Regions from separate parts of the Homo sapiens genome. Here region 2 is linked to region 1. Evidence: promoter capture Hi-C in 16 types of primary human blood cells and fetal thymus (Javierre and others, 2016). All regions are on one chromosome and are shown on one strand. Each heading gives the region's core, a stretch centred on a gene start or on the middle of the fragment in contact. The rest is flanking DNA. Distances are from core to core; before and after follow the strand shown.

What was found. Contacts are between HindIII fragments. The CHiCAGO score rates a contact against its expected background, and 5 or more counts as called.
Region 2: a contact is called between the fragment with the promoter of EYA3 here and the fragment with the promoter of YTHDF2 in region 1, in 1 of 17 cell types (fetal thymus). The highest score is 5.0, in fetal thymus.

What each region holds. Positions count from the first base shown.
Region 1 is chr1:28,733,363-28,738,314 of GRCh38, reverse strand. It overlaps YTHDF2 (YTH N6-methyladenosine RNA binding protein F2), which reads right to left and starts at 1,375. Exons shown (of 5, transcript NM_016258.3): 1 at 1,168-1,375; 2 at 633-657; 3 at 1-56. The coding sequence starts at 1,194. RefSeq lists enhancers at 769-878, 761-1,659, 1,979-2,028, 2,559-3,458. The HindIII fragment of the contact is 4,406 bases long and covers 1-2,313 here.
Region 2 is chr1:28,085,577-28,090,412 of GRCh38, reverse strand. It overlaps EYA3 (EYA transcriptional coactivator and phosphatase 3), which reads left to right and starts at 1,803. Exons shown (of 18, transcript NM_001990.4): 1 at 1,803-1,889. RefSeq lists enhancers at 1,864-1,933, 2,144-2,203. The HindIII fragment of the contact is 6,678 bases long and covers 1,683-4,836 here.

The sequences.
Region 1 (4,952 bases), core at 126-2,625:
AGGTTCAAAATCATCATCGTTTAATCCATCCTTTTGATGTACAGATCCATTTTGTACTAAAGAAAAAAAAATTCAATTAGGAGTGTCCCAATCCTACAATCTTCCTTTCAAATTAGTTCATATATGCTAACCAGAGAAAAACCTTACTAGTTAACAAAGCACGTAAGATTGAACTTCAAAAGGGTAAGAGATGACAGTGAATGCTGAAGCGACAGTCGCCAGTGAAAATGTCCCCCTCCACCCAGAGCAAGTTGATCTAAAAAGGTCATTTTATTGGCTCCTCTGGATTTCCATTCCCTCCCGCTTCCCCTCCCCCATCACATGAGAGTACTTCCAGAGAGTGATCCACGAGGATGAAAAACAAAGGCCTTCTAAGACCTACAGGAAACTAAGGACCTGGAGCGTTTCAAAACCCAATCCACCCCCACCCTTAATGAATTACTCCTTGTTAGCGAAAAAGCTGTTCGCCAGCTGCAAGAACACACCGAAAGGGTCAAAATACTTAAGTGTGCGGCACCTGCGAACTAAGCGGCTTCCGAAAGGTCCTCCGCCCGGGGCGCTTCCCGGAGACCCCGCCCCCACCGCCCCGCGTCCCCCTCCCGGCTCAGGGCCACCGGCGGAGCGGGACTTACCTTTGTTTCCTTGACCTTTTGGTCTCTGCAGGGGAAGGAAACGTCGCCGAGCAGCAAGTTGTCCAAAGGAGAAATGGAAAAGGAAGAACAAATTAAGGCAGGGCCCGAAGGGAGAATAAAGGAGCAGGCCCGAGGGGAGGCGTCAGGAATGGTAGTGAGGAAGAGGCTGAAAATGGGAGGCGGGGGAAAGCGCCAGGCCCGTGGGGCAGGGGAGAAAACGCGGCAGACGCGCCACCGGCGACGCGAGGAACCCAGGGCTTTAAGGAAGGGGAAGGAAACAAGGAAGGAAAACGAGGCCCGCCGAGAGAAGGGAACGCGGCGCGGCCCGGCCCGTGGGCTCCGAGGCCCGAGGAGAAGCGGGAAGAACAGGCTGAGGGAGAGGCGCCGGGCGCGGCCGGCCTGAGAGGCCCGAAACCTGGCCCGCAAGAGACGACGCCTCGGCTCGGCTCGGCCTGCCCAGGAGCGGCGGGCCCGGGCCTAGTCGGGCTCCTTCTCGCCTCACACAATGGCCGAGGCATGCGGGCCGGGCCTGTACCTGCTCCAAGAGGCTGCTGGCCGACATGGCTCTCAGATCCTCACGGGCGGCGACGGCGGCGAACTCTCCTCAGCGCGGCGGCGGCGGCAGATGAGCCCCGTCTGCGGGAGCAGGCGGAGGCTTTTGTCCCTGACACTCGGGGGCCTCGGCGGACGCAGCGGAGACACAGCGCGCGGCTCAGGCTCCGGCTCCGACTCGGCGACGCTCTAGCCCAAGAGCTCAATGCCCGTCTCTATGCTTTTACGCGCGCGCCCGCCCCCCACCGCCTAAAGCAGAGCGCCGAACAGCGGAGGCGGGCGGCGCGCGCGGCGCGAGCGCTGACTCTCACATTCACTCACCCACGCGGAAGGGGCCCGGCGCGAAGAACCCCGGGAAGGGAGAGGCCGGCCGCTGCGCCCTCTGGCGGATTGGAGGAGCGGAAGCCGTGCTCACGGCCTCCCCGCCCCCACCGCCCCAGGATTAAGGCCTAGGGGGTTTGGGACGACCAGGGTCGCACCACGAGGTTTCGACTAACACCTGGAAAGACTAGCTCTGGCTTCAGAAGAACGACAAAAGCCGGTTTCTCAGTGAGGGAGGGGCCTCCGAAGCCCGCGAGACCTTAAAATGAACCTGCCTTCCAGCTGCAAGTGATACCCCACCCCCATCTGGGAGGTAACCCGACCCCTAGGGAGTCACACAGTCCCCAGGGAAACTTCATGGGGGCCCTGTCCGGGAGTGACCCGCCCCCGCCCCCGCGAGGGGCTTGGTCATCCTCTGTTAGCCGACTACAGAAAGAGTACCCAGAGAGCAAAACACACACCGAAAGAATCCAGTCTCCCGCAAAAGAGATTCACCCCTTAGCATTGCAGGAAGGAGAATCTACAATTTATTTTCGGGGAAATCGCTGGCCCCAAGATAATCTGTTAAATTGTGGACTTTATTTCCAAGAAAAATACACCTCATGCATCTACACAAAACTTTCAAGGAGTCCGGAGAACCTATGAATCTTAAGGACCTCAAGAGGGAAGCAAGGAAATTAACATTATTGAAATACCAGCTGTGGGCCAGGCTTTGTTGTTAGGTATTTTCAAACACATTAAAGTCTTTCGACAACTTCAAAATCGCTATCAGTCTTTCGGTTTTTTACGACTGGAAAAACAGAAAGCTTAAGTAATGTGCCCAAGTTTACAAAACTATTAAATAGCCAGGTGTATCTGACACTAACATAATGGTATCTCTCTACCCCTACGAGACTCTGTATTAGGGAACCAGAATATAGGGGAGATGCAAAGGATGGGCAAAAGTATTTTCAATCAGAAGCAAAGCCAACTCATGCAGGAATATTTGATACTAGGAAAGCCCATCTAATAGCTTTTGTTATTGCAAGTACGTCGTGGTAAACAGGTAACTAATGCACTAATTGTCAACCTCGTACTATCCACACGCTGGATATAGGAGGCTTGGGTGGACTCGGTAAAATAAATAACATGGCATCTTGGATTTAACATCATAATTTGGTCAAAGTGCTCAAAGCACTTTTTTTCTCTGCCCATAATCACATTTATGGTAGGAATGAGTAAGGTCAGGCACCAAAGGTGAAGGACTTTTAATGGAGACAGTAAAATGTCAAGTCTGGGAGCATAGATTCCATCAAGGGAATAGAATAAACCTAGTAATACTTCTTTTTAAAGATACTCGGCTACGGCGGGCGCGGTGGCTCATGTTTGTAATCCCAGCACTTTGGGAGGCCAAGGCGGGCCGGATCATGAGGTCAGAAGATCGAGACCATCCTGGCCAACATGGTGAAATCTCGACTCTACTAAAAATACAAAAATTAGCTGGGCATGGTGCCATGCACCTGTAGTCCCAGCTAATCGGAGGCTGAGGCAGGAGAATCGCTTGAACCCGGGAGGCAGAGGTTGCAGTGAGCCGAGATCACGCCATTACACTCCAGCCTGGGCAACAGAGCGAGACTCGTCTCAAAATAAATAAATAAATAAATAACAAATAATAATAATCAGCCACTTAGCTCCATGGCCCAGATTTATGTATAAACTGTAAGCGGTTGCCTATACTTACCCTTGGAGGCAACATGGCATTGTAAAAACAGCATTAGACGAGAAGTCATATGCTGGGAGACAAAGGGTCTAAATAATGGTTTCCCCACCCAGATGTGCAATACTGGGTAAACAACTAAAACCTTTCTTAGATTCCCTCATTTGATAAAGGGGATGATGGATAATGATACCTACCCAACAGGTTTGTCGTGAAGATAAACTTTAAAAAAAAAAAAAAAAGCCGGGTGCGGTGGCTCACGCCTGTAATCCCAGTATTTTGGGAGGCCGAGGAGGGCAGATCACCCGAGGTCAGGAATTCAAGACTAGCCTGCCCAACACGGTGAAACCACGTCGGTACTAAAAATACAAAAATTAGCTTGAGCGTGGTGGTGGGCCCCTGGAATCCCAGCTACTCGGGAGGCTGAGGCAGGAGAATCACTTGACCACAGGAGGCGGAGCTTGCAGTGAGCCGAGATCGCGCAATTGTACTCCAGCCTGGGTGATAAAGCGAGACTCTGTCTCAAAAAAGTAAATAAAATAAGTAAAATTAAAATTTTTTTAAAAGCTGACATTAAAGCATGTGTGGCACAGTGTAAGTTCATTTCCTATAATCCCATTAAGCGATTTAAGTAAAAATTCTTTCCCTCCAAGAAAGAATGGTGCCAGGAGTTTTTATTAGTTCCTTTGGGATGACTTTCTGTTTGCCAGAAGTTCCCAGTTAAAATGCAAATTATCCTTAGGAAAAGGGTAATCTCTAAACCTGGATTCGTTTACCATGATGGCTTTTAACAGGCCCCTGAAGAAACAGAACCCAGAAGACTGATAATATTTAATCACTGGAAAGAGAGAGGGGAAGTTGGAATATGTGGTGTCATTTCATGGTTTGAAGAAAATAATACTGTACTGGAAATGTTTAGATTCTAGGTTCAGCTCTGCCGCTGGGTAAATGAAGCATTCAGTCTCTCTTTCAACAAATATTTATTGAGGGCCAGGCAGTGTGCTGGGGAGAAAGTTCATTTCTCCTTGAAGCAGACTAGCCAGGGAAACTGAGACTATGAAAATAGCTATTCAAATAGTTGTTCAATTACAGTTGTGGAAAGTGCAATGAGGAAGTACAGACAGGTATAACCTCCTCAGAGGAGCTAGGGAAGGTTTCCCTGAGGAGATGAGCTTCAGCTAAAACATAAAGGATGAGGAGAAACAGGCCAGGCAAGGAGAGAAGGGAAACAAAAGAACAACATGTGCTGGCCAGGCACGGTGGATCACGCCTGTAATCCCAGCACTGCGGGAGGCCGAAGCGGGCGGATCACCTGAGGTCAGGAGTTCGAGGCCAGCCTGGACAACACGGTGAAACCCCGTCTCTACTAAAAATACAAAAAAATTAGCTGGGCGTGGTGGCAGGCACCTGTAATCCCAGCTACTCGGGACGCTGAGGCAGGAGAATCACTTGAACCCAGGAGGCAGAGGTTGCAGTGAGCAGAGATCGCGCCATTGCACTCCAGCCTGGGGGACAACAGCGATACTTCCTCTCTCAAAAAAAAAAAAAAGAAAAGAAAACAACATGTGCAAGGGCCCTGAACAAGGAAGGAACTTGGCACTGGTGAGGAACTGAAGGAGGCCAACATGATGGTGCACCATGAGAGAGAGGGTGGCACTAGATAATACCGAGGAACTGGGCATAAAGGAGAAAAATAAGTCAGGTATGGTGGCATGCGCCTGTAGTCTCAGCTACTCGGGAGGCTGAGGCAG
Region 2 (4,836 bases), core at 554-3,053, 650 kb after region 1:
TCACTGACTGACTGGTTTATACCAACGGAGGCAGTAAATGGTCAGGTTCTGGACAGATTTTGAAGGCAAATCTTGCAGAACTTGCTGATGGAGTACATGTGGGATATGAGAGAGGAGTTAAGGATCTTAGTAAATGATGTTGCTTAGTACATTGTTGTCATCGGAAGAGGTGATCAAATATACAGTCAAAAAATGTAGAAAAAATAGTTTTTTTTCTGGATTTTGTTATTCGTGGTATTTGTGAGCTAATAAAAATGTTTGTAATTTTTCTCATTATAAAAGGTTCACTTTTATATCTAATATTGTATTTGTAATTTTGGATTTTTTTTTTTTTTAGACAGTCTCGCTCTGTTGCCCAGGCTGGAGTGCAGTGGCATAATCATAACTCACCGCAGCCTCTACCTCCTGGGCTCAGTTAGGTGCGTGCCACCACACCTGGCTAATTTTTCTGGGTTTTTTTTGTTGTTGTTTTGCTTTGTTTGTTTTGTAGAGACAGGGTCTAATTTTGTTGCCCAGGTGATCTCCAACTCCGGGGCTCAAGCAACCGGTCGACCTCGGCGTCCCAAAGTGCTAGGATTTCAGGCATGAGCCACTGTGCCTGGCCTTGATTATTTTAAAGAGGGCCCCCAAATTGAATAAACGTCAAGTCTCCACAAAGCCTGAATTCAACCTTGCTTCTAGCCCATACTTGGGTTGTAATTTAAAATTAACGAAACATTTAAGAATTTTGCTTCCGAAAACAGTGTGCACGAAGTGAATTGTAAGCCTAATATAATATTAAGAATAAACTAAATTTGGGGATAAAAAGATCACCTTGGGGCTCACGCCTGTAATCCCAGCACTTTGGGAGGCCAAGGGATCAACCGAGCTCCAGAGTTGGAGACCAGCCTGGGCAACATGGCGAAACCCCGTCTCTACCGAAAAATACAAAAATTAGCCGGGCGTGGTGGTGCGCGCCGGTAGTCTTAGCTACTCGGGAGGCTGAGGTGGGAGGATCACTTGAACCCAGGAGGCGGGGGTTGCAGTGAGCCGAGATCGCGCCACTGCACTCCAGCCTGGGCGACAGAGCAAGACTCTGTCTCAAAAAAAGAAAAAAAAAAAGGGATGGGCGCGGTGGCTCACGCCTGTAATCTCAGCACTTTGGGAGGCCCAGGCGGGCGGATCACCTGAGGTCGGGAGTTCAAGACCAGCCTGACCAACATGGAGAAACCCCGTCTCTACTAAAACTACAAAATTAGCCGGGCGTGGTGGCACATGCCTGTAATCCCAGCTACTCGAAAGGCTGAGGCAGGAGGATCGCTTGAACCCGGGAGGCGGAGGTTGCAGTGAGCCGAGATCGCGCCATTGCACTCCAGCCTGGGCAACAAGAGCGAAACTCCGTCTCAAAAAAAAAAAAAAAAAAAGATCACCTTGGGCTAGCCTCCCAAATGTCTTCCAAAACTTCCCACTCATTCTCCTTCCCAGTTTTTCTAAATCTACCAAATGCACCCAACACTTCTTACGTTCCTTTTAGCCAGGTAGGGATTACGCGCATTTTTAAAGACCTCCTTAAAAGTGAAGGCTGTAGTACCGTCAGGACTGCCTAGCGCTCACCCAGAAGCTGCTTGTCTCCGAGGCACTAAGAGGGGCGTGGCCATGGGCGTGGCTCGCCGGGCCGGCGGAGTGGGCGGAGCCTAAAAGCTTCCCCGCCCGGTCAGACTCAACACATGCGCCCAGAGGTTTCTAGTGGAACGAGGTGTGGATTGTGAGGTGACTCTGGCCGCTTACTTCCGGTTCCTAGCGATGCGCATCCGGGTCACGCTAACGCCGCGGTTTCCTCCGCTCGATTGGTTCTACTGTGGGTCTGGACTGATCTCCATGTCCTGTTGTGGGGCTTTTACAGCCTTTGGGTGAGTCTCAGCTGCCAACAGGGTCTGAGCGCAGCCGGGCGAGCACAGCGTGAAGGGGGATGGGTCTAGAGTTCTGCCTCGGTCCTTGTGGGTGGGAGTCTCTTCGCCTGTCCCTTGTCACTGCAGTGCTTCACTCACCTCAGCCCTTTCCTTCACGCTGGCCTCGCCTTATTCACCTCAGCTTAGCCTTCTCGCGCTTCCGTGCCTCTGTCGCCTCGCTGTTTTTCCTCAGCCTCATCAGTCCTTTTCCAACCTCGGTTTCTTGCCTTACGCCTCAGCGCTTCTCTCAGCCACTGCCTCTCCTTTTTTCTCCTCCTCCCTTCTTTTAGAACCTCTTTTCCCCTACCCCTGATCTGGGATCTCAGCGTTCTTTCACCTAGCGAGACGGCCCAGCTTCTCATTGTGCTCACTCTTCACCACGAGAAACTGAGCCTCTCCCTAGGGTCCTAGTTCCTTGTCCCCCAACTTTCTTCAGCTTTGATCCTTCCTCCTGGGACCAGTAGGTGACAGTGCTTCTCCTGGGGTTCTTCTGCCTGTCCTTAGCTAGAGGAGAGCTTTGCCAAAGCCCCGAAATGGGAAGACTTCCCCAGCCTGGGGGAAGTTTTGCCTTAAGGCGCCGGGTTAGACTGAACTCTGGTAGCTTCCATAGTTAGGGTACAACAAAGGCGTTCCTAGTTCTTCGCTTTACCTCAGTTTTGGGGCTCTCTCAAGAGCAGCTAACAGGTGGCAGGCACACGGTACTGCTAGCAGTTGGGCTGGCGCGATCTTGTTAATTGACAAGTCATGAAGAAGTTCTGTCAGTTTTGTGTTCCCATGAGAATGGATGTGCACAGCTGAGGCAAAAACGCCAATATTTTGGGACGTTCAGCTCTGTTTTCGGCATGGACGCTTCTTACAGGACACTTGTGATGATAGAGGACAGAATTTGTGGAGAGATCATTAGCCCCAGATTTATGAATTTATTGTGTTGTTTCCGAAAAGTGGTCTGCTGAAGAGTTCACTATAGTAATTTCAAAGTAATCTTTAAACTTAGTATGCACATATGCATTTTTTCATTTTTACTGTATTAAGTTTTCTATTTGTCTTCCTCTTCCTTCATTAGCCAGACTTTACTTAGAATTACATTACTTAGAAGTACATTACTTAGAATATTCTTCTAACTTTTGTATTTTTTTTTCCTTACCATTTCCACCTTTGTAGTAAAACTATCATTTTCTCATTTTGAGATTTAGGGCACCTTTCTTAAATTTCCCTAGAGGTTTAAAGTCATTTATAACATGAAGGAATTGCATTTAATAATGGTTAGTGCTCCCTTTCCCAAATTTTGTGATCTAGAGTATAGGCTTGGGTAATCTTTATTTTTTCCCGATGTTTATAGTGTATATCTAGCACTTGATTGCAGCGGTTTTTGTGTCATCAGTTTCTGTAATCTATAAATTGTGCTTTAAAATGTAGTACTTCAGTATGAACTTAAATACAGCTTTGAGCACCTGCTTATCTTTTGGCTAATTAGCTATAGAAAAATCTTCATTATATGATACATATACATATAAGAGTGTATAGTCCTTGGCTTATTCCAAAATTGGGCTCTCTTCAGCTGTTTTTAGCAAAGGACTTTGGAGCTTGGCCATGTTAGTCCTAGAAGCCACGGAGAAGGACCCTTCTGATTGGCTTTCAGGACTTATCTAACTGCTAAGTGAAGCCTCTTTGAAAGTTTCTTATGTGTACCTCCTCCCCACTACCTAGCTCTAGCTTCTGTCCAACCTGGCCTATTTTCCATCCTTCAAAACAAACCCCAATGTGTATGGCTTACTCCAGCTGCTTCCTTACCTTCAGGTTTGTGGGCTTCATTTAAGCCATGGGAATGCCAGCTTAATTAATGCAGATTAAGATAAGAACATTAAACCCCAAAAATGATGGGAAATCACTCTGTCTTCAAAACAATAGAAAATAATAAAATCTAGTTATAAAGATTATATACCATTGTCACTAGTAAGAAGTGGCACTCTTATTTACAAAACATAAAGAAATTAGGGTTTAGGTCTGGCATGGTGGTTCACACCTATAATCCCCAGCACTTTGGAAGGCCAAGGCCAGAGGATTGGCCAGGAGTTCGAGACCAACCTGGGCAACATAGACAAAATTAGCTTGGTGTAGTGGTGTGCGCCTGTAGTCCCAACTACTCAGGAGGTTGAGGTTGGAGGATTGCTTGAGCCCAAGATTTTGAGGTTACAGTGAGCTGTGATCACATCACTGCGCTCCACAAGGCAACAGAGTGAGACTCTCTTAAAAAAAAAAAAGAAATTACAACTTAAACAGTTAATTTCCAAGGTCATTTTTTTTTAAGTCAAGAAGTCCTATACATGCTCTCAAGAGTAGCGAGTGTTAATTCCATTAAAGCTGTAGGCTGGAAAGCACAATATAGTATTTAGTGGGTCATTTCAGTATATGTCATATATGAATGAGACTATTAGGATAAGAAATCTGTGACATGGATTTTAAAATCCAAAGCCGAAGTCATTTTGCCTTCAAAGAGTGACTAGAGAAAGAAACTGTTTTGTGCAGAAGTAGAAGTTGAAAAGTTTTAGGAGTCTTTTGTTCTTCTAAAATGACTTTGGCCTGTATATTCTGCATTGAAGCCATTAAATGAAATGAGCATCCTGTGTAGTCATTGGAGCAGTTGTGTTCCATGCTGCTGATCTTCAAGCCTGACCCTCCACCTAGCTGCCAAACCAAAACAAACAAACAAACAAACAAACAAACCCAGAGACAGCTTAATGTGTGTTTGTTTTTAAAGCTCAGGAAAAAAAATTACCGTTGATTTTCTACAAAAATTTCTACTTTAGTTGGTAGCCCTAAGGGCTCAATTTAAAATATGTTTCTGCATATTAGTTTTAGGCTTACCAAGTTTTCTTATTTTGGTTTGGTTTGATTATTTTTGGTTCTT